Regions from separate parts of the Homo sapiens genome. Here all the other regions are linked to region 1. The links are contacts of gene promoters, found by promoter capture Hi-C in blood cells and fetal thymus (Javierre and others, 2016). All regions are on one chromosome and are shown on one strand. Each heading gives the region's core, a stretch centred on a gene start or on the middle of the fragment in contact. The rest is flanking DNA. Distances are from core to core; before and after follow the strand shown.

Evidence for each region. Contacts are between HindIII fragments. The CHiCAGO score rates a contact against its expected background, and 5 or more counts as called.
Region 2: a fragment that was not itself captured here is called in contact with the fragment with the promoter of TDRD7 in region 1 in 1 of 17 cell types (neutrophils); the score reaches 8.2 in neutrophils.
Region 3: a contact is called between a fragment that was not itself captured here and the fragment with the promoter of TDRD7 in region 1, in 1 of 17 cell types (naive CD8 T cells). The highest score is 5.5, in naive CD8 T cells.
Region 4: the fragment with the promoter of ZNF510 here is called in contact with the fragment with the promoter of TDRD7 in region 1 in 1 of 17 cell types (total CD8 T cells); the score reaches 5.4 in total CD8 T cells.
Region 5: a fragment that was not itself captured here is called in contact with the fragment with the promoter of TDRD7 in region 1 in 9 of 17 cell types (total CD4 T cells, total CD8 T cells, naive CD8 T cells and 6 more); the score reaches 8.0 in total CD4 T cells.
Region 6: a fragment that was not itself captured here is called in contact with the fragment with the promoter of TDRD7 in region 1 in 17 of 17 cell types (naive CD8 T cells, naive CD4 T cells, neutrophils and 14 more); the score reaches 17.0 in naive CD8 T cells.

The regions. Positions count from the first base shown.
Region 1 is chr9:97,410,294-97,414,108 of GRCh38, reverse strand. It overlaps TDRD7 (tudor domain containing 7), which reads right to left and starts at 2,013. Exons shown (of 17, transcript NM_014290.3): 1 at 1,871-2,013. RefSeq lists enhancers at 1,167-1,426, 1,031-1,530, 1,531-2,032 and silencers at 1,368-1,662, 1,747-1,956, 1,977-2,326. The HindIII fragment of the contact is 7,534 bases long and covers 1-3,815 here.
Region 2 is chr9:96,426,054-96,429,868 of GRCh38, reverse strand. No RefSeq gene overlaps it. Among named protein-coding and RNA genes, the nearest start is that of ZNF367, 9.6 kb to the right of the region's middle. The HindIII fragment of the contact is 4,183 bases long and covers 1-3,815 here.
Region 3 is chr9:96,757,514-96,761,328 of GRCh38, reverse strand. It overlaps ZNF510 (zinc finger protein 510), which reads left to right. Exons shown (of 6, transcript NM_014930.3): 6 at 852-3,815. The coding sequence ends at 2,551. Among named protein-coding and RNA genes, the nearest start is that of ZNF510, 19 kb to the left of the region's middle. The HindIII fragment of the contact is 1,255 bases long and covers 1,259-2,513 here.
Region 4 is chr9:96,776,045-96,779,859 of GRCh38, reverse strand. ZNF510 (zinc finger protein 510) reads left to right here and starts at 1,773. Exons shown (of 6, transcript NM_014930.3): 1 at 1,773-1,826; 2 at 3,615-3,815. The coding sequence starts at 3,791. RefSeq lists a silencer at 1,913-2,012. The HindIII fragment of the contact is 7,758 bases long and covers 1-3,815 here.
Region 5 is chr9:96,826,000-96,829,814 of GRCh38, reverse strand. It overlaps ZNF782 (zinc finger protein 782), which reads left to right. Exons shown (of 6, transcript NM_001001662.3): 5 at 2,634-2,735. Among named protein-coding and RNA genes, the nearest start is that of ZNF782, 27 kb to the left of the region's middle. The HindIII fragment of the contact is 1,412 bases long and covers 1,497-2,908 here.
Region 6 is chr9:96,868,277-96,872,091 of GRCh38, reverse strand. It overlaps a transcript of ZNF782 not described here and the pseudogene LOC100132781. Among named protein-coding and RNA genes, the nearest start is that of ZNF782, 16 kb to the right of the region's middle. The HindIII fragment of the contact is 1,738 bases long and covers 1,198-2,935 here.

The DNA.
Region 1 (3,815 bases), core at 764-3,263:
CCAAGGAACTTCTGTGAAAGTGTCCAGATGCAAAGCACTCTATGTCAAATCTCAATTCTTGAAAACAGCACTTGACAAACACAAATTAGGCACTCGGGGTTGGATTATATTTTTTCTTTATATTCACATTAAGTATCCAGCTAGATTATATTGCACAGAGAACTTAAAAGAGGGGTTCTGCAAGGAGTTTAAAATCTCTTGATGCACAATACAATAGTTCATTCAGCCATGTTCAACCTGTACACTTAAAAGGGCATTAGCAGGGGATTACACTTCATTTTCAATCTACAGAGACTGAAATCTGAAGGCACTGCCAACTGCTGCCTCACAGTCTCACCGTGCAACTACCAAAGACGGAGGCTGTGTGCCACCAAAGGGCCCTGGATTGGGGCACAGGAGATGTGAGTGCTAATCCAGCTGGCCCCAGGGGCAATTCCCTATACCCAGAACAGTACTTTGCACGTAACTGATGCTCAATGAATGTCAGCTGAGAGGAAATGCAAAAATATCCACCATGTGCCCATTTATATTATATAGTAAACACAAAGATCTTTGTGTCCCTGCCCTCAAAAAACTAAAATCCAATTATGTAAAACATGGACCGTTTGTTGGGAGGAAGAGAGTGAATACTGCTTGGCAATTATTATGAGGCAAAGGATATACAGTGGTTATCTTGGAAAAGCCTTGCAAAGTAAGCCAGGTACCTCTATTTGACACATAGAAAACCAGGCTAAGAGAAAGCATGTAATTTGTTCAAGATCACACAATTTGTAAAATGAGAAGCCCAGATTTCAATCCAGGTCTGCAAAGTTCACATTATTTGCAGTATGCAACACATTCATACACATCAAGGCAGCCCAGGACGAGACAGGGATTTGGGTCCAAGTTTTACTTCTGCTATTAAGCTGTTGCCTATCTCTCTAGAGAGAACATTTCTCTGCATTTTTTTCACCGGCACGATTGGAGAGCAGAGAGGTGTTGGTAGGAGGGTTAATGAACTAGATCTGTGGTTTTTTGGTTTGGTTTGGTTTGGATGGGCGGTGATCAGAATTCTTCTGGGCCAGGACTTGTTCTAATGTGGTTGTTTCCCTTCCCTGCTCTTAGAAATTATTTGAGAATGGTACCTTTAGCTATTAATGGAAATATACCTCTCAAGTGAATGGGAGCAGAAAGATATGCCGGCTCCAAGCTCCCTCCTAGCAAGCTGAAGCTGAGAGTCTGACCCTGCTGAGGGGATGCTACTGAAAGTTGAGAGACAACTTACTCACGGATCCATGTTTCCCTCCCAGCTGGGTGCTCTGTACCCACTGGGTGCTCCTCGTTTGAGAGAAATGGGGATGTGTGTCCTGCATTACTTAAGCGGCCTGCCTGGGGCTCGTCTCCAGATTATAGAGACCTTCAAGAGAAGTTCGTGGTGTAAAATACTTGGGTTCAAATAGGGGAGCGCGGACATCCCTCGCTGGGGGCGGCGGCTGCGGCCTGTCGCGCCGGTAGCGGGAACCACTTCCTGGTCCGCATCTCCCGCCCGCGTCCACACCCCGCTGCTGCATTTCCCCCACGGCGCAGAGCTTCCGAGGCGGCAGGAGGCTCCGTCCGACTCCCGCGTGAACGCCCGGCCCGGAGCAGGGTCCCTTCAGAGATTTAAAACACAACGCTCTGGAACTCCAACTCCCCCGGCGCCCAGCCCGGTTCCCAGGCGTCGGGGCGGGGGCAATCCCCTGCGGCTGCAGGGAAAAGGCCCCGAGCCTGTTGGAGCCCCCGGCCCTGGCCGCGGTCCCACCGGTGACCCAGGTGCGCCGCGCCCGCCCGAAATCTCGTCCGACGTCGCCCGGCACCTGTCGCGCCCGGAGCCCGCAGGACCTGCACTCACCTCGTTCCGGGGGCCCACGGCCCGTCCCCGCGTCTCTGGGCCCAGCTCCTGCCGCCGTCTCCGCCAGGGGCCCCGCCGCGGCCGCCGCCCACTTTCGGTTTCCCCGCACCACCGGAGCCGCCCCGCGGCTTGGGAATCACCTCAAGCCCCCGCCCCGCCCTGCTCGGCCCCGCCCCGCTTCGCCCCGCCCCGCTTCGAGGGCAGCCTGGCCTCGGCTCTGCGCACGCGCGGGCGCTCCGGCCGCGTCGGCCCACGCCGGCGTCCGCGCGTGGGAAGGGAAACCGTCGCCACCTAGCGGTTTCTGCGCGTGCCCACGCACCGGCCGGCGGCGGAAGACGCCTGCGGGGCGGGTGCGGGAGCGCCTCCTGGTGGACAACGCAGGTACGCGCGGGCCGAGCGAGCCGGGACTCAGCAGGGGGCGAGGGTGGCTCCTTCTATGGGGCTCACCCTCCTTCCAAACAGTTCAACTCCTGCACATTATTTTCTTCAACATCTGGAGCAGTTACTTTTTATTGCCCTAGACACACACTCTGTCCGCCCATATCCTTCAGGCCTTTCTCAAGCATTACCCTTTCAATGACGGTGGACACAGTCTCTAACATGTCAACCTCCTTCCTTGACTTTCCCTATCCCCATTCTCAACCTTATTTCTCCTTAGCACCTATCTAGCACACTATATGTATTTTACTTATGCTTTTATTGTCTGCTATCCTTCTAAAATTAAAGCTCTGTGAGCACAAGGATTTTTGTTTGGTTCCTTAACCTATTCCCAGAGCCTAGGATAGTGCCTAGCACACGATCAGCAATAAATATCTGTCAAATTTATTCATTCACTCTAAAGTTATTGAACACCTAATAAGTGAATACTTATTTATTCTGCACATTAATTCCACCAACACTTATTGGCACCTGCTTTGCATCCCTGCAGCCAACATTGAACACTTCTCTGCACCATTGGATATGCATTTACTGAGAACCTGCTGCTTATTCAACCGGTATTTTATTACAGCTTGACTGCCATGTATAAGACATACAATAAACTGAACGTTTAAAATGTACAGCTTGATAAATTATGCATTTACTGAGAACCTGCTGCTTATTCAACCGGTATTTTATTACAGCTTGACTGCCATGTATAAGACATACAATAAACTGAACGTTTAAAATGTACAGCTTGATAAATTATGCATTTACTGAGAACCTGCTGCTTATTCAACCGGTATTTTATTACAGCTTGACTGCCATGTATAAGACATACAATAAACTGAATGTTTAAAATGTACAGTTTGATAAGTTTTGATATATATATATCACTGTGAGACCATCACTGCAATCAAAATCATGAACATATCCATCACCCAAAAAAGTTTTACTGTGATCCTTTGTAATTCTTATATCTTGTCCCTCCCTGTCACTTGCCCCCTCAACTGCTCACCTGCTTTCTGTTGCTATAGATTATTTTGCTTTTTCTAGAGTTATATGTAAAACTTTTATGTATGGAATCGTATGTACTATCCTTTGGGGGGCTGCCTGGCTTCTTTTATTTAGCAAATTATGTTCATCCATGTTGTTACATGTATCAATAGTTCATGTCTTTCTATTGCTGAATGGTATTGTAGGGATGTACCAAACCTACCACGCAACCCAGCAATTCTGCTCCTGGGTATTTACCCAGGAGAAATGAAAGCAGATGTCCACACAAAAACCTGTACAAGAGTGCTCATGGCAGTTGTGTTGGCCGTAGCCCCACATGGAAAGAATACAAACATCCGTCAGAAGGTGAATGGACAATCAACTAATATATATTGAACACCTGCTGTTAAATAACAAATTTTCATGGATAAGCCTGTGCTTATAGAGCTTTTGATTCAGTGAAAAGATGCAGTAGGCAATACAAAGAAAAATTGGAAGTAAATCTGGAAAACCTGATATCCAGCTCTCAGAC
Region 2 (3,815 bases), core at 837-3,336, 980 kb after region 1:
TTTCAAGGAGTGAATTTTTTACCAGTCCATTGTTCTGCTAACAAAAAGGCAGGGATCATCAGGGACAGCTTTTCTAATTGTTTTCACAAACATTTTGTACTAGTGGCATGTGCTCACTGCAAAGAAACTAAACTGAATGAGGACTGTAAGATTTTGTTATTCCTTGATACCGATTTTGCTCATTCCCCAGCTGAAATTTTCATCAAAAATGTTTGTGTCGGCTGGGTGCGGTGGCTCACGCCTGTAATCCCAGCACTTTGGGAGGCCAAGGCAGGTGGATCGCCTGAGGTCAGGAGTTCGAGACCAGCCTGGCCAACATGGTGAAACCCCATCTCTACTAAAAATACAAAAAAATTAGCTGGGCGTGGTGGCACATGCCTGTAGTCTCAGCTACCTGGGAGGCTGAGGCAGGAGAATCGCTTGAACCCAGGAGGTGGAGGTTGCAGTGAGCCGAGATCGCTCCACTGCACTCCGGCTTGGGCGACAGAGCATGACTCCGTCTCAAAAAAAAAAAAATATATATATATATATATGTGTGTGTGTGTGTGTATATATATACACATATATACATATATACATACATATATACATATATACATACATATATACACATATATACATACATATACATATATACACACATATACATACATATACATATATACATATATACACACACATACATATATACATATATACATATATACACATATATACATATATACATATATACACATATATACACACATATACATACATATACATATATACGTATATACACATATATACATATATACATATATACGTATATATACATATATACATATATACGTATATATACATATATACATATATACGTATATATACATATATACATATATATACATATATACATATATATACATATATACATATATACATATATACGTATATGCATATATATACATATATACATATATATACATATATATACATATATACACATATATACACAATATACATACATATACATATATACACATATACATATATATACATATATACACATATACATATGTACATATATACATATATACATATGTACATATATACATATATACATATATACATATATATACATATATATATGTAGTCTGTGTCAGAGCTGGAAGAAGTGGATATTCAAGACGTTTTTAATGAGCCTTGTTCCTTCACTAACTGAGGGTGAAATATCTGAGTTGGTTCTGAACCAAGGTGATCGTGATAACAGTGACAGTGAAGATGATGATGTTAACACTATAGAAAAAGCACCTATAGAGGACCTGGTGAAAATGTATGATGGGCTTATTGAAAACTAGGGCAGTGTGCATTCACAACCAAACAAGAAATCATGTCAATTCATAAAAATCAAGAGAGACGTCTAAGACAGAAACTGGCCGGGGTGATGGCTCATGCCTGCAATCCCAGCACTTTGGGAAGCCGAGGCGGGTGGATCACCTGAGGCTGGGAGTTCGAGACCAGTCTGACCAACATGGTGAGACCCCGTCTCTACTAAAAATACAAAATTAGACAGGCGTGGTGGCACATGCCTGTAATCCTAGCTACTCAGGAGGCTGAGGCAGGAGAATTGCTTGAACCTGGGAGGTGGAGGTTGCAGTGAGCCAAGATCGCGCCATTGCACTCCAGCCAGGGCAACAAGAGTGAAATTCCATTTCAAAAAAAAAAAAAAAAGACAGAAACTGTTGTTAATGAGGCAGATGATGCTGAATGAAACATTTTCAAAAGCCATCCAGCAGATGCCTCCTCACCCCTATGGGACCCACTTCCTGATCCTTTAACTGCTACTGATGTTTTTTTTTTTCACTGAAAAAAAGAAGATACAGTGTACAGCCTTTCAATCAAAAGGTAGTATCATAGGTAGAGACCAGAAGCTGCTGTTGTTTAGCCACTGATGCAGGTATCTGGTGATGCTATCTTGGGTGCCCTGAACACATTATTTTTTCACTGCATTAATGAAATGTCATATTTTTTACTGGTAAGTACGTATGTGTGAGTTTAAGAAAATGATTGGTTATTGGTATCATATAAATGCAGAGTCAGGAAGCATGGGGATGTCCACATTGGTGGCTGAGATAGTGACATCTTCGCCTCTGATGGTTCAACATACACACACCTTTATTTTTATTTAAAACGTTGTATACAATTACCTTCAGGCTACGTGTATAAGGTGCACATGAAATGTAAATTAACTTCATGTTTAGATTTAAGCCTCATCCCCAAGATATCTCATTATGTATATGCAAAAATTCCATAATCCAAAAAAATCTGAAATCCCAAACACTTCTGGTCCCAAGCTACCTGGGAGGCTGAGGCAGGAGAATCGCTTGAACCTGGGAGGTGGAGCTTGCAGTGAGCCGAGATTGCGCCAGTGCACTCCAGCCTGGGCGACAGAGCAAGACTCTGTCTCGAAAAAACAAAAAACAGAAATCAAACAAACAAACAAAAACCCAGGCAAACAGACTGGTAGAACAGAATGTAAAGTTAGACCCAAATACATATGGAAACTTAGTATATGAAAAAGGTGGCATTTCAGATCACAAGGATAAAGATAAATTTTTAAATAAAGTCATGTGATAAAAATTTCATGAATGAAGTCAAAAGACAACTGATGACAGCTTGGGAGAAAATATTCACAACATATACTACAGACAAAAGGGCAATGTTCTCATATATATAGAATTCTTAAAAAAAATTAAGAGACAGCTTGGCACGGTGGATCACGCCTATAATCCCAGCAGTTTGGTAGGCTGAGGTGGGTGGATTGCTTGAGCTGAGGAGTTTGAGGCCAGCCTGAGCAACAAGGCGAGACCATGTCTGTATCAAAAAAGATGCAAAACTTAGCTGGGCATAGTGTTGTGCACTTGTAGTCCCAGCTATTTGGGAGGCGAAGGTGGGAGGATTGCTTATGCCCGGGAGGTTGAGGCTGCAGTGAGCCATGATTACACCACTGCACTCCAGCCTGGGTAACAGAGTGAGTGCAGCTGCTTTGGAAAAGTTAAGTCGGATCCCCAAAATGTTAAACCCACGGCTGCTCTATGACCCAGCAATTCCACACCTAGGTATAACCAAAAATAAAAATAAAAACATATATCGACATAAAAACAGACACACGAATGTTCACAGCACCACTGTTCATAATAGGCAAAAAGTGGGAGCCACTTAAATATCCATCAAGTGATGAATAGATAAGCAAAATATAGTATAGCTATACAATGAAATATTATTTCTCCGTAGAATGGAGAAAGGATTCTCCATTGGCGCCCAGCCAATTTCGTAATTCTGACCAATTCGGAATTATGAAAAACAAGGGGCTGGGTGTGGTGGCTCACGCCTGTAATCCCAGCACTTTGGGAGGCTGAGGCGGGCGGGTCACGAGGTCAGGAGTTCGAGACCAGCCTGGCCAATATAGTGAAACCCCATCTCTACTAAAAATACAAAAAATTAGCCGGGCTTGGTGATGGGTGCCTGTAATCCCAGCTACTTGGGAGGCTGAGGTGGGAGAATCGCTTGAACCCGGGACACAGAGGTTGCAGTGAGCCGAGATGGCACCATTGCACTCCAGCCAGGGCAATAGTGTGAGACTTTGACTCAAAAAAAAAAGGAAAAACAAGGAGCCACTGAGCCACTGAAGAACTGTTACTCACTGCAGGGAACTAAGGACAAATAATCCCTAAATGCTATGTAAGATCCAGACAGGATCTTGGAACAGAAAAAAAGACATTAGTGGAAAAAAAGAAAAAGATTAAAATAGAATAAGGGGTGTAGTTTAATAAATA
Region 3 (3,815 bases), core at 637-3,136, 650 kb after region 1:
TCTTAAATGTCATTTTCACAGTAGAACTTTCTGTGATACCCTATTTAAAATTGTACCCCTCATGTCAGATTGAAATGTGGAAACTCAGGATGGGATGATCAGGTTCACTTAGCACTTAGTTCTGATGGAATAAATCAATGCTATGACAGCCAGAATGGAGCAGTGCATCTAAGTTAGTTGCATGAATGGATTTTATTTTCAACAATTTTATACTTGCTTGTATTTCTATGAATCACAACCATAAGACAGGTTAGAGCTATAAACTTTTTCATTTAATCATAAAGGAGTTGGTGCTGTTATAAATTTAATTTGATGTTGAATTGATGAGGGATATCAAATTGTAAGAATGTAGACAATAGACTATTCTAACCATTATAATCTAGATAATGTCAAGACCTAGACTGTAATTTACTTTCAGCTTCTAAACCCCCTCCCTGTTGAGTCTATTCCAAAATTCCTGTTATCTCCTGATTTTCCTTGTTATACTACTTACATTTAGAGTTTTTGTTGTATTTATCCCATTCTCTGTTTTTCCTGCTCCCTAAAATAACTACCCCTATAAAACGCTTAGTTTTATTTTATTTTCTTTCCTCTATCTATCCAGTTAGGAAAATCTTACTAATCACATGCAAAATATGTATTCATTACCAGCTTCCTCTCCCATTTGCACTATATCAATATTATTTTTTAAAGGAGGGTGGTCTGAGATATATATATTTACACACACATACATCTGAATTATTTAATCTTGATAAATCAAATAATTAGGTGCAACATAGGCTGTATGTTGATAAAGCTCTACCCACAGAAGATGTAAGAGTCATAAGATGTTTTCAATATTTCTGTTTTAGAAGATTACAGAGGTGATGACCTGATCAAGCAGAACAAGAAAATCAAAGACAAACACTTGGAGCAAGCAATATGTATCAATAATAAAACATTGACTACAGAGGAAGAGAAAGTTTTGGGGAAACCATTTACTCTGCATGTAGCTGCTGTTGCTTCAACAAAAATGTCCTGCAAATGCAACTCATGGGAAGTGAATTTGCAAAGTATTTCTGAATTTATCATTAATAATAGAAACTATTCAACAAAGAAAATAGGTTGCGGTAATGTATGTGAGAATTCACCTTTCAAAATTAACTTTGAGAAAACTCAGACTGGAGAGAAATTTTATGAACATAATAAAAACATGAAAGCTCTCAATTATAATGAAAATCTTCCCAAGCATCCAAAGTTTCAAACTTTGGAGCAAGCTTTTGAATGTAATAAAATTGGAAAAGCCTTTAATGATAAGGCTAACTGTGTTAAACATAACAGTTCTCACACAGGAGAAACATCCTCTAAAGATGATGAATTTAGGAAAAATTGTGATAAGAAAACTCTCTTTGACCACAGGAGAACTGGCACAGGGAAGAAACACCTGCATCTTAATCAATGTGGGAAATCCTTTGAGAAGTCAACTGTGGAGGAATATAATAAACTTAATATGGGTATAAAACATTATGAATTAAATCCAAGTGGAAATAATTTCAACAGAAAGGCACACCTCACTGATCCTCAAACAGCTGTCATAGAAGAGAACCCATTGGTAAGTAATGACAGAACACAGACTTGGGTTAAATCCTCTGAATATCATGAAAATAAGAAATCCTACCAGACGTCGGTTCACAGAGTTCGCCGAAGAAGTCACTCAATGATGAAACCCTATAAATGTAATGAATGTGGGAAATCCTTCTGTCAGAAAGGACATCTCATTCAACATCAGAGAACTCACACAGGAGAGAAACCATTTGAATGTAGTGAATGTGGAAAAACTTTCTCCCAGAAGTCACACCTCAGTACTCATCAGAGAATTCATACAGCAGAAAAACCCTATAAATGTAATGAATGTGGAAAAACATTTGTCCAGAAGTCAACCCTCAGGGGACATCAAAGAATTCACACAGGAGAAAAACCCTATGAATGTAGTGAATGTGGGAAAACTTTTGTTCAGAAGTCCACCCTCAGAGATCATCACAGAATTCACACAGGGGAGAAATCCTTTCAATGCAATCAATGTGGAAAAACATTTGGCCAGAAGTCAAACCTCAGAATACATCAGAGAACTCACACTGGGGAGAAAACTTACCAGTGTAATGAATGTGAAAAATCCTTCTGGCGAAAAGATCATCTCATTCAACATCAGAAAACTCACACGGGAGAGAAACCATTCAAATGTAACGAATGTGGGAAAACTTTTGCCCGGACATCAACCCTCAGAGTGCATCAAAGAATTCACACTGGGGAGAAACCATTTAAATGTAATGAATGTGGGAAGAAATTTGTCCGGAAAGCAATCCTTAGTGATCATCAGAGAATTCACACAGGGGAGAAACCCTTTCAGTGTAATAAATGTGGGAAAACTTTTGGCCAGAAATCAAACCTCAGAATACATCAAAGGACTCACAGTGGGGAGAAATCTTATGAATGCAATGAATATGGGAAATTATGTAAGAAGTCTACCCTAAGCTTATACCAGAAAATTCAGGGAGAGGGGAATCCCTATTGATGTAATAACTAGAAAATCCTTTTGACAAAAGGAATACCCCATTTGATATCAGAGATACACAAAAAACCAATTGAGGGTAGTGAATGTAAGAAGACAGTCCCAGAAGTAAACCCTCACTGTGAATCAGAGAATTCACATAGGAAAGAAACCAGATGAAGATGAATGCAGGAAGAATTGTGTCCAAAATGCAACCTTCAGAGTGTATCAAAGAATTCAGACAGGCTTCTGTTTTCAGAGTACTATGGATAGGCCTGAATGAAGTCATACCCTATTAGATAGCTCCCACACATCACACAGGCTGGTAATCTCTTCACCAGCACCAATTTCATTTTACTCCAGGCACATAGTCCAGATTTCCCAATCTCCTTTTCATCCAGGTTGGTCTTTGTGACTGGCTACTAAGATGTGGATGTCCATGATGTATATCACATCCCAGTCTGAAACATAAGAGACTTCCCTAATAAATTACCAGGGCCCTGTCACAACAAAATGGATATCATTTCTAGGACAAGCTTGGTGCCGTGCTTTAATGTGGCATGGTACAAGATAAAGAAGTCTGTGCCTGAATGAATACACGCAGCAAAATTCTCCTCTTCTGTGTCTTTCCCAGTTGAACATTATGTGAGCAAAATTTAAGCTTATACAGTAGTCCCCCCTTATCTGTATTTTCACTTTACGCAATTTCCATTAACCATGGTCAACTGTACTTTAAAGTTATTAAATGGATCCAGAAATAAACAATTCCTACATTTTAAACTGCACCCGATTCTGAGTAGTGGGATGAAGTCTCATGCCCTCCTGCTCTCCCATGAGGGTTATTGAATCATTCCTTAGTCTAGCATATCCACAGTGTATACACTATCTGCCAGTTAGTCACTTACTTGACATTTTAGTTATCAGATCACCTGTCAGGGTATGACAGTGCTTGTATTCAAGTAACCCTTGTTTTACTAAATAATGGCCTGAAATTGCAAGAGCATTTCTGGCATGTTGTTGTAATTATTCCATTATTAGTCCTTAATTTATAAATTAGGCACAGCAAGAGATTAAACTATCATAGGCATGTGTATATGTAGGAAAAAAATATAGTATATACAGGGTTCAGTATACCCGTGGTTTCAAACATCAACTTGGAATTCTTGGAGAGCATTCCTTGTAGTTAAGCAGGGACTACTGTATTCTGTTGAGCTTTCACATGTTTGAGTCTATTTGTTTCTACACATAATTTAGTTATCTTCTGCTAGGAAGGCAGAAAGCTTCTGTG
Region 4 (3,815 bases), core at 524-3,023, 630 kb after region 1:
TGTCCTTTGTCCCAGCACCTATCTCATTGTCCTAACAAGGTTACTGAAGGTTCTCTTTCCACTGCTTTAAAAGCCAGCTGATACATACTACATTCTTTCTTTTTCATATAGTTGAACTTTTACTGCACCAGGATAAATTTTTAAATATTTAGTGATAGTATACATAGTAAATATAGAGATATTGCTATGCATTTTCAATTCTTTTCTGATCATTACCATAAGTTTTTATTAGAATGAAAATTGGAATAGTTCCTTTAGGAAAACAGGCAAAATATATAAATGTCAAAAAAAGAAAATATATACTTAGAAAACATAGATGATTAGAATTTTTAAAAACAAATGTTAGTCTTTTCCTCCAGTATCTATTAAAGTGTTTTTCAGTGTCAACAGTAAAATTTTATACCTTGATTCATATATACTGCACTAGTTTACTGTTGCCATTAATCTTTTTTCTTGCTAATCAAAACTTATCATTGCCATATAAAATAACCTGTTAGAAAGTATCAACCGTGTGTGTGTGAGTGTATGTGTGTTACTAAAAAGAGTGTCATAAAATACTGTGCTGAGAGGTTCCTAATTTGGTTCCTGATTTCAGAAGCATACCACATAAGATTTAAGCAAGCTCATCTCTAGGAGATGCATAATTTGTGGATAACGGTTTTCTTAGTTGGGATTGTGTGTACTTCAGGTATTATGTAATGCTGAACAGCTTACTTGCTTTTTCTTTTTTTCCCCCCAGAGATAAACTGAGGATCACAAATATTATTCTTTTATGTTAATAATGGTTTCCATTTTCTAGTATTTGTTACATTTTACGGCTTTATTCACAAAGCTGTTTATGTATTTTTGTGGCAGCTCTAAGTTAAAAGGCACACTTGTAACATTACAGTCCCAATTTTCCCTTTATCAACTTTATATTATAAAATTTTCCAACACATAGTCAATAAGCATGTCCATATTCTAGAAGTAGATATTCTTAACATTTTGCCATACTTCCCATTTCTAATTATTTTTTAAAAAGAACTTACAAACGGGCCGGGAGTGGTAGCTCACGCCTGTATACCCAGCACTTTGGGAGGCCAAGGCAGGCGGATCACTTGAGGTGAGGAGTTCGAGACCAGCCTGGCCAACATGGTGAAACCCCGTCTCTACTAAAAATACAAAAATTAGCTGGGCGTAGTGGCGGGCGCCTGTAGTCCCAGCTACTTGGGAGGCTGAGGCAGGAGAATCGCTTGAACCCGGGAGGCGGAGGTTGCAGTTAGCCGAGATCGCGCCACTGCACTCCAGCCTGGGCGACAGAGTAAGACTCCGTCTCAAAAAAAAAAAAAAAAACCAAAAAACCCAAAAACTTACAAACATAATACAATCCTAAATACTTACATAGACATCTCTTTATGAATAAGCAAGATTACCTACATAATCCCAATGCTGCCACAATTAATTAATAATTCTAATTTCCAGTCCGTATACAAATTTTCCCAATTGTTTTCAAACGTCTTCCGCGGCTCTTGCTTTCTGTAACCACACGCTGCATTTGCTGTTATGTCATCAAGTCTAACCCACAACCTCTGGGGCTCTGACAGAACCCGGGCTCCAGTTATCAGGACGGTCCATGTTATTACGCCATAAATCTTGGGGGAAAAACAAACAAAAAAACACTGACAGCTGGCGCCGTACTGCATGTGAAACGTAGTCTTGCATGTTATGGGTTACCGCGCAGCATGCTGGGAACGGATATGCGCGTTTTCGTCTGCGCATGTGCAGTCAACCCCACTTTCCGGCTTCTCCCTGTTAGTGTTTGCTGGTGCAGAGGGTTCGCAGCTCAGGTGAGAGCGCCGGGCCTCCACGCGGATTGCGGACCTGCAGGGAGGGATGTGCTAGTGTCCAGGGGGCGGGAACGCGACGTCCCGGGAACTCCCCCAAAGCAGGCCGTCGCTCCCTGTGCCTCGGCCGGCCCGGGACCTCAGCCTGAGAAGGGCCGGTGGGGGCGGGCTCCGGGGGCGTTAGGTGGGGCTGAGTCCTAGTTGGAAGATGCTCGGTGCGGGCCGAGGTATGGGCGCCAGAATGCAGCCAGGCGTCGGAAAACGCGGTGCTGGCTTCAGGAGGGGAATGCGCGTTTATTGTATTGACCATGAACCTGCCACAAAGCGCGTACAGCCCGTGGGTCTGCGGTGAGAGGCCGAGCCTAGGAGCTAGAAGGACCTCGTGAATTTTGGCTCTGTCACTTGAGCGTTTGAAAATGAGGATATTAGTAAAAACTGCTTTGTGTCGTTCAGAGGTAAGCCATCCCCTGTAAAGCATTTAGCTAAGCGCTAGTTACTAAGCAGCATGTAAATGTTGATTCCCGTTATATTTGGAAGACACTTTGTTCTTTTCATGTAGTATTTCGTTTAATTCTCACAACCACCCTATTTATATCATTAAAAATGAAGAAGGAGGAGTGAAAAGATAGAGCCAAGCTCACAAAGGATGAGAGAGCTAGGATGTCAATACATAAACACTTTACTCCCCGAATCAGGCTGTTTGTAATGGCCTACCTACCTAACCCAGCATTGCAGCCTTCACAGCACTGAGTGATTGTCCCCAAAACCCCAGGACAATGATTGTGAAGTCAGTGTGGACAGAATCTTACTATGTGGCAAGTGTATTTGTTGTGGGGTTTCTGGGATGTCTCCAGAGCCTCTGGGTTAGACTGAGGCCCCTGCCACCTCCTGTGCTGTCCCTCCTGTCTCTGTCTTTAGAAGTCAGTCTGATATTCTAGGGCAGTGAAGATGAGTCACATACGTAATTTTAAATGTTAAACTAGTAGCTACATGAAAATCTAAAACATGAAATTAATTTTAAGAACATACTGTGGTTTTCTCAGTGTATCCAAAATGTTATTTCAACATGTGGTCCTAGCCACATTTCCAGTGCTCAGTAGTTGATGTGATTGGAGGCTGTAGTCATGGATAGCAGGGTTCTAATTAATGCCAAGAGAATCAGGTTTAAGGCCTTAGGTCACTTCTTCACCAGGAGGATTTTGCTCCCTAGGGAACTTTGGAAATGTTGGAGACTTTTTTGGTGGGGGGAGAGGGGACTGAGTTTCTCTCTGTCGCCCAGGCTGGAGGGCAGTGGTGTGATCTTGGCTCACTGCAACCTCCACCTCCCAGGTTCAACTGATTCTCCTGCCCCAGCCTCCCAGCTTGTAATCTCAGCTGGAATTACAAGCATGCATGGCCATGCCCAGCTAATTTTTTGTATTTTTAGTAGAGGTGGGGTTTCACCATATTGGCCAGGCTTATCTTGAACTCCTGACCTCAGGTGATCCACCTGCCTTGGCCTCCCACAGTCCTGGGATTACAGGCGTGAGCCACCACGCCCGGCCTGGAGACGTTTCTGATTGTCACAACAGGGAGAAGGGGTGTCCTAGTGTCTAGTGCATGTTTAGAAATGCTCTTAAACATCCTGCAATGCACAGGACCACTCCTTATGTCAGAGGATTATCCAGCCCAAAATGGAAGTTGTGCTGACGTGAAGAACACTGTTTTCCATGAAAGTTTCAACTAAAATAAATTTGTTACCCAGGCATCAGCCCCAGCTTCTCTGGAGCAAAGCAGCTCTTTATGTTGCAGGAAGGAGGGAGCCCCAGGAACAGGAGTCCCACCGAAGAACTGCTCTCTGACAGAACAGAGACCTCCTCACCAGGGCTTCCAAACAGATGCAGAAGAACCCAGAAAGGAGCAGGTCTTGATTTGCCCAACCAGCGGCACTTCTTCATCCCCTTGCCCAGAGAGCACCAGACTTGGTGATGTCGCCACATCCAGAAGCCATCA
Region 5 (3,815 bases), core at 953-3,452, 580 kb after region 1:
AATTTTTGGCTCTTTGAAATTTTTTTTACTATTATTGCTTTCTCAATTCCTATTTGGAGAGCAAGATTTTTTAATCCTTTTAAAGTTTATTTAAACTTGTTTCAGGGCCCATCTTATGATTTATCCTGGTTAAATGTTTCATATGTATTTGAAAATAATGTGTTTTCCTTTTGGATCGGTGTTCTGTAAATGGAGGTCATGTTGGTTGATAATATTCTTCAACTCTTCTGTACTTCTTCTTATTTACTTGTAATCTACTTCTATAAATTATTGAGAAAGGAGTTTTACTGTCCAGCTACAATTGTGGATTTGGTTATTCTTCCAGTTTCATCAGGATTTGCTTTATGTATTTTGAAGTAGTGTTATAAAATGGAAAAACATTTGTGATTGTTATATCCTCTTGATTAATTATTCCCTTTATCATTATGCAGAATTTCTCTTTATATGTGCTATTTATATATTATAAAACCCATAATAAATAATATTGTCTAAAAAGATAACTTGAAAGATAATGTTCTATTTAAAGAAAAGAATTCCAAGAATGAGAAAAGTATATTTTGTTTTCATCCTCTTTTTTCCAGTTTATGGTGCTCTTTATCTCTATAAATTTTTTTATATAAATCAGAAATTTTCATAGTACCATTTTTCTTCTGTCTGGAAAATTTAACATTTCTCGTAATACACATCAGTTGCTGATAAATTGTTTCAGCTTTTTTTTTTTTTTTTTGGTCTGAAACATCTTATCTTTGCCAAGTATAAAATTTTAAGTTGATTTTTTTTCTTTAAGTACTTTAAAAGTATCACTTCACTGTCTTCCAGACTGTAAAATTTCTAACAAGAAGTCAGCTTTAATTCTCTTTGTTCTTCTGCATATATTATGTCTTTTTCTGTCTACATAAAATTTTCTTTTTTTCAGCAGGTTTTAGCAATTTGATTATAATGTACATTGGTGTGATTTTATGTTTCCTCTTGGCATTTATTTAGCTTCTTGGATCTGAGGGTTTATATAGGTCATTAAAATTAGGAAATTTTGGCCACTGTTGCATCAGAATTTTCTCTCCCTTTCCTTTTTTTCTTCTGGAATGCTGATTACATATATGTTAGACTACAAATTTATTTAACCACAGGTCACAGATAACTCTGTTTATTATTTTCCAGTCTCTCTATGTGTTGCCCAGGCTGGTCTTGAACTCCCAGCTTCAGGCAGTCCTCCTGCCCCACCCTCCCAAAAAACTGGGATTACAGGTGTCACTGTGCCTGGCCATATGGGCCATTTCTTATTTGGTTGTTACTGATTGATTTTTCTCCTTGATAAGAGTCTTGTATCACTGCTTCTGTTCATACCTAGTAATTTTGTGTTGGGTGCTAGATATTGTGAATTTTACATTGTGAGTTGCTAGATTTTGTTGTATTCTTTTACATATTTCTGAGCCTTTTCTGGGATGTAGTTAAGTTACTTGGAATTAGTTCGATCATTTCAAGGTACACTTTAAGCTTTGTTGTGTTGGATTCAGAGCTCACTTTAGAACTAATTTGGCCCCTCTACTAAAGCAGTACCGTTCTGGTTATTCTACCCTGTTGGTCATTAATTAGGAGGTTTTCTACCCTGGTTGGTGATGATATAAACTTCCTGCCTTTGTGTATGCTGTAGTGATTTTTCAGCCTATTCTTTTTCACTGGTCTTTTCCTAACCTTGAGTGATTCTCTTATATGCTTATACAGGTCAGTACTCAGGAGACCCTTCTGCAGATCTCCAACATTTTATATCAGTATAGCTCTTTCTTCGCTGGCATTTACTCCCACAAATTCTAGTTGCCAGGGCTTCCTTAAACATCCAATTTTGTCACATCAGCTTGCCAAGTCTGCCAGGCTCTGTTTTGGTATTCTTTTTCCGCTCTGGTTTGGCAACTCTCTCACAAGTAGCCTGTGATAATCATAGGGCTCACCTCATTGTTTCTCTACTTTCAAGGATCCCTGTCTGCACTGCCTCTTGGCTAAAACCTAATTACCATTTTTTATATTTTGTTTGGTTTTTTAGTTGTCTGTTATGGAAATCAGTTCCTTTTACCCTGTTACAGCCAGATATGGAAGTCCTTATGAAATCTCTTCCTCAATAACCAAGACATTGGCCATTTTAGAATTTTATGTTACTTAGGTGTGCAGTTCAGGGGTTCAAGGAGATTGATCATTTATGAGAATAAGAAAATGTTTTTTGGCCAGGTACAGTGGCTTATGCCACCGTACTTTGGGAGGCCAGGGTGAGACGATTGCTTGAGGCCAGGAATTCGACTCTATCTTTACAAAAAAACTTTAAAAAATTAGCCGGGTATGGTGGTGCACACCTGTAGTCCCAGCTACTCAGGAGGCTGAGGCAGAAGGATTACCTGAGCCCAGGAGTTTGAGGCTGCAGTGAGCCATGGTGGCACCACTGCACTTCAGCCTGAGTGACATAGGGACCCTGTCTCTAAAAAAAAAAGTAAGAAAAGAAAGAAAATGTTTTTTGTGGTTACTTCCCCAAGGAAGGTCCAGTGAGCACCCTGAATATGCCCCTTCTGAAGCTGTACCTTCTTCACATTCAGAAACAGTAGAACCTATGCAACTAATGCAAATGCTAAATTGTTTCCCATTTATAGGCTACTGCTTTACAAAACCAGAACTGATCTTCACATTGGAACAAGGAGAAGATCCATGGTTATTAGAGAAAGAGAAAGGATTTCTAAGCAGGAACTCCCCAGGTGAGTTACTGAATTCAACAAGAAGAAGGTTCTCTGATTCACTAGGAGTACTCACACAACTCAGCGTATAGTCATAATAATGGTTAAAATTTATACACTGAAAAAATACAAACAAAAATCAGCAGAGATAAAAGGTGCATGGGGCAAAGTTCGTAGGAAACAAGCTACAAGCTTCTGAGAGTTCAGATAGTTCCCCAAGCACAGTTTCCTAAACAATGAATTTTGAAAACATATGTAAAATGTTGTCTACCCAGAACTGGTGCCCAGGGTTTTTATTGTGGGCTAATCATGTAGACACCCTCTGTCTAGCATCTGCCAAAATTACAGACTGTGAGATGGAAAACTGGTGTTCCCTATCATATTGTTTGTGCAGGGCTGGCACGGTGAGCCCCTCGGCAGTTATGAGAATCTTGTTTCTAGATGCCAGCCAAGGGCAAACCTTACAAGAAAGCCTTTCTAAGAGTAGCAGTCTCAGGCCTGCTGAATCAACTCTTTTATTTATTTATTTATTTACTTATTTATTTTATTATTATTATACTTTAAGTTTTAGGGTACATGTGCACAATGTGCAGGTTAGTACATATGTATACATGTGCCATGCTGGTGCGCTGCACCCACTAACTCATCATCTAGCATTAGGTATATCTCCCAAAGCTATCCCTTCCCCCTCCCCCAACCCCACAACAGTCCCCAGAGTGTGATGTTCCCCTTCCTGTGTCCATGTGTTCTCATTGTTCAATTCCCACCTATGAGTGAGAATATGCGGTGTTTGGTTTTTTGTTCTTGCGATAGTTTACTGAGAATGATGATTTCCAATTTCATCCATGTCCCTACAAAGGACATGAACTCATCATTTTTAATGGCTGCATAGTATTCCATGGTGTATATGTGCCACATTTTCTTAATCCAGTCTATCATTGTTGGACATTTGGGTTGGTTCCAAGTCTTTGCTATTGTGAATAATGCCACAATAAACATACATGTGCATGTGTCTTTATAACAGCATGATTTATAGTCCTTTGGGTATATACCCAGTAATGGGATGGCTGGCTCAAATGGTATTTCTAGTTCTAGATCCCT
Region 6 (3,815 bases), core at 817-3,316, 540 kb after region 1:
GAGGTAAGGTTCCTAAGGTTTATGGACATAAAATATGATACCTGCCTCCAGGTTAACATGCGGGATAATAAAATGTATTAGATCATCTACTACTATTAAGGTCCAGTTCCTTCAAATTTGTTACATGTGCATTAAAACTGATCCTATTCTGTATCACATCTAGAGAAAATAATTTTGGGTGATCAATGCAGATGAAAGCCCTGCAAAGAACTACTTCAAAAGAGAAAAGGGCACTTTATAAAAATACAACAATTCCAAAAGGCTTAGTGTAATTTTAAGCTTTGATACTTGTAGAAGTATCAATGCTACAAATATTTACAAAGCATCACTGAAAGGTTTGTTATATTTCTTTTACCTTTATTTAGTTTTGCCATTTTTTAGAGTGACAGGGTCTCAGTATGTTGCCAAGGCTGGAGTGCAATGGCTATTTCCAGGCACAATCACAGCGCACTGCAGCCTCCAATGCTAGGCCTCAAGTGATCCTGCCATTTAAGCCTTATGAGTAGCTGGGACTACAGGCATGCCTAGCTCCTGAATATTAACCTTTAATTTTTTGTTTCAGTCCTTCTTGACGATAGCAGATATTGATGAGACAAAAAGTTAAATGCTTAATATTCAAATTCTGCAAAATGAAGCCAGAGGTGGTGGTACACACCTATAGTCCCAGCTGCTTGGTAGGCTGACATGGGAGGATTGCTTGAGGCCAGGATTTCCAGGCTGTGGTATGCTATGACTGTGCCTCTGAATAATCATTGCACTGTACATTGGGTAACATACTGAGACAACATCTATTTAAAAAAAAAAAGAAGAAATACAATTAAAATTTCAAATTATATTTTGTAAAGGTTTATAGCCTGCATATGTATGCTTCAGTGCTCTGGAGGGCACAAGCATACTATGTTAAAGCTAAAAACTGTCCTGAAACTTTCAGGACACCTCATGTTTTATCATTTTTTATTACCACTGGATCACCATGTTGCTTGGCACTATGAAAACATCTTTTAATACCTTTATTTAAAAAATAAGAAAATTTATCAGCAAATGAGAACCATTATAGTTCACAAGAAATACACCACAGACCCTAATAAAAGTAGATAATCAATAACCAATATTTTCTCTTTTTATGACCCCAAACATGCTAACTGCTAATAAGAAGTGCTTACAGAGGATATGAATGGCAAATGTTATCCAGAAGCTTTTGCTTAAAATGATTGCCAGTAACTAGTAGCTTCGATTCTAAGAGTAGGAAGGAAGAGCCCCTTCAGTACCTGACAATGCTGCATCTGCTCCTAGTGGCTTTATGAGTTGTTAAGAGTCCTATGTTTTAATGGTAATATGATGCTAAATGCATATGCAGCAATATTGGGGGAAAGAAAAATATAAAAGAAACAGAAAAGTTATCTTTAAAATCTAAAAATTTAAACCATTGTTTTAAACCCTTACATAGTTCACTGCTATCAGCTCACATAGGAGCCTTCACTTTGGAGTGGTTTTTATAACTCTCTTTACATTAAAAGGGACAGAAGAGTGTAAGAGTGTGTTGTTGCATTGACAAGGTCCCATTCTTTTCTATGAAGTGCAATCCTAGTTGTCCTTGAGTTAACTTGAATTGTAGGTGTTTCTTCTTTTGAAAGTACTTTTCTAGTTCTTCAGCAGGAAAGGTGATATTTTCCTGTCTTTTTTGATGAGGGGTTCAGATGTTATATAACCCCTCACTTCTTCCTTCAGGAGAGGATGGCCTTAAGGCACTGAAGATCAATTAAATCATCAGAACTCAAAGACCTTTTCCTTTTGTTGGCAGTACCATAGAAGTCTTTGTCTTCCAACCTTGAAACAACCTAAGAAAGACAATCAAATAGAAAAGAGGTACAATTTCAAAAAGGATTCCAACCTGTAACAATCACCATTGATGATAAGCCACACATGCAGACTCCCTTAGATAGTTCAGTAACAGCTATTTTGGCTGAGGTTTACAATGCCAAGTTCTGTCAACTCTCTAAGGTAGTCTCCTTTAAGGGCTATAATTAGATTGCTGGAGCAAAGGGGGAACTTGTTTTATTAAGTTATTTAAAAATTGGGCTCCTAAAGATGTCACAGTATTGTGACAGTCTTCTAACAGCAGTATCATCTGTTACCTGTGCACTTGTTCCTTAAACATAATGAATGCACACTTTTGCAAAAGTTAGTTTATGAATGTATTCAAATTCTACCCAATCTGTAGTAGTTATTATATACTCAAAGCAAATTTTAATGAAGCAGGTATGTGCTGGACTGCATTGGAATGTCAAATAAGTCTAATGACTAAAGCATCAAAAGGTGTTACTTCACTTGGACATTAATTATGGTAGAAAATGTATTATTTCAAAATACTTCCCAGCTACTACCGAAAATGCCTATTTTAAATGTTCATCCATGTCAGTTGTGAGTAATTTTGCTGTGTACTCACCGAAAGTCACAAACCATAAATATTACTTTGCCCCATAAAAGTTATCATTTCCGGTAGAATCCCATGTACTTCCTGCATCCAGTACTTGAGACACACATACCTTATACAGTCTAAGTGCAGGTCTCTTGGCTTAGGCACTAATGCTTTGTCTAACAAACTCATGGGACTCACTGCACTGTGGTATATTACAGTAGAAAATGATATAAATTTGCAAACTAAATGATAACAAATAGTAAAGAATGTTAAGTGCATTATATATGTAGATATTAGGAATACAACTGCAAGAAATCACTTATGTATGATTATTTGAAAGGGTAGCAGTTCAAAAGGAAAACCATTAAGGATGAATTAAACTTGATTAAAATATTCTGAATTATGGTTACAGAAGAGATGATATCTATAACTTTTAAATAATGTGAATCTTTGTATAAACCATAAACTACATGCCAAAAAGGTTAATAAGCTCTTCAGTATGTTAATTTTGAAGCTTTTCATTTTTCTAATCACTTCTTAATATGATCTAGTTGCAGATGTTGGCATTGGTGTTTGACTGAAAGCCCACTTAGTACCTTCATAGCCTTACCTTCAGTTCCCATGCTCTTTCTATGTCAAGAAGACAAAATGGCAAATATAGGCTACTGTCGTGTGCCAAGGCGCAAAGGTCAAAGTAGCATTTGGTATAAACACTGCCAGGAACATCGACATCATTATTAATGAAGTGGGAGAACTGGTTTCCCAACTCAAGCCTGGGGAAGGAGAAACACAACAAAACCAACACAGGACAATGTTAGTCAACTGGGCTATCTTCAAAAACATTATTCTCATGTAAGAAATGTGGTAAAGCCGTCATATGCTCTAGTTTATTAGAACACATAAAAGAACTCACACTGTACAGAACCCTATCGATGAAAGAAACACAAGAAAGCATTCAACTTTCCCAGTTCTCTTTGAAAACTTAGAAAAACTTGTATTGGAAAAAATAATGAATGTAAAAAACGTGTTAATGAACTTGATTTTCCCACATCTTTTCAAAGGCATAGTTGAATTTTAATACGTAGAAAAACTACATAATCTTAAGAAACATAGTCAAGCCTTCAGCTTTTTCATTTCTTTGAAAACATGAAAGGATTCAAGGGAGAAAACCCTTATAAATACAAACATGTGGTAGGGTCGTCAGTTGTTCCAGTTCCACATGAAGACAAGAACTCGTTTCTGAAATAAAACCTATGAATGTATAGAATGCAGAAATGCCTTCATTTACGTGATATTTGCTCCAAGACCTATGATAACACACATTGTAGACTGGCCTTATAAATATAAGAAAGCACACTGGATTGGAACTCCAGTAGACTACAAAATACAGGAAAGT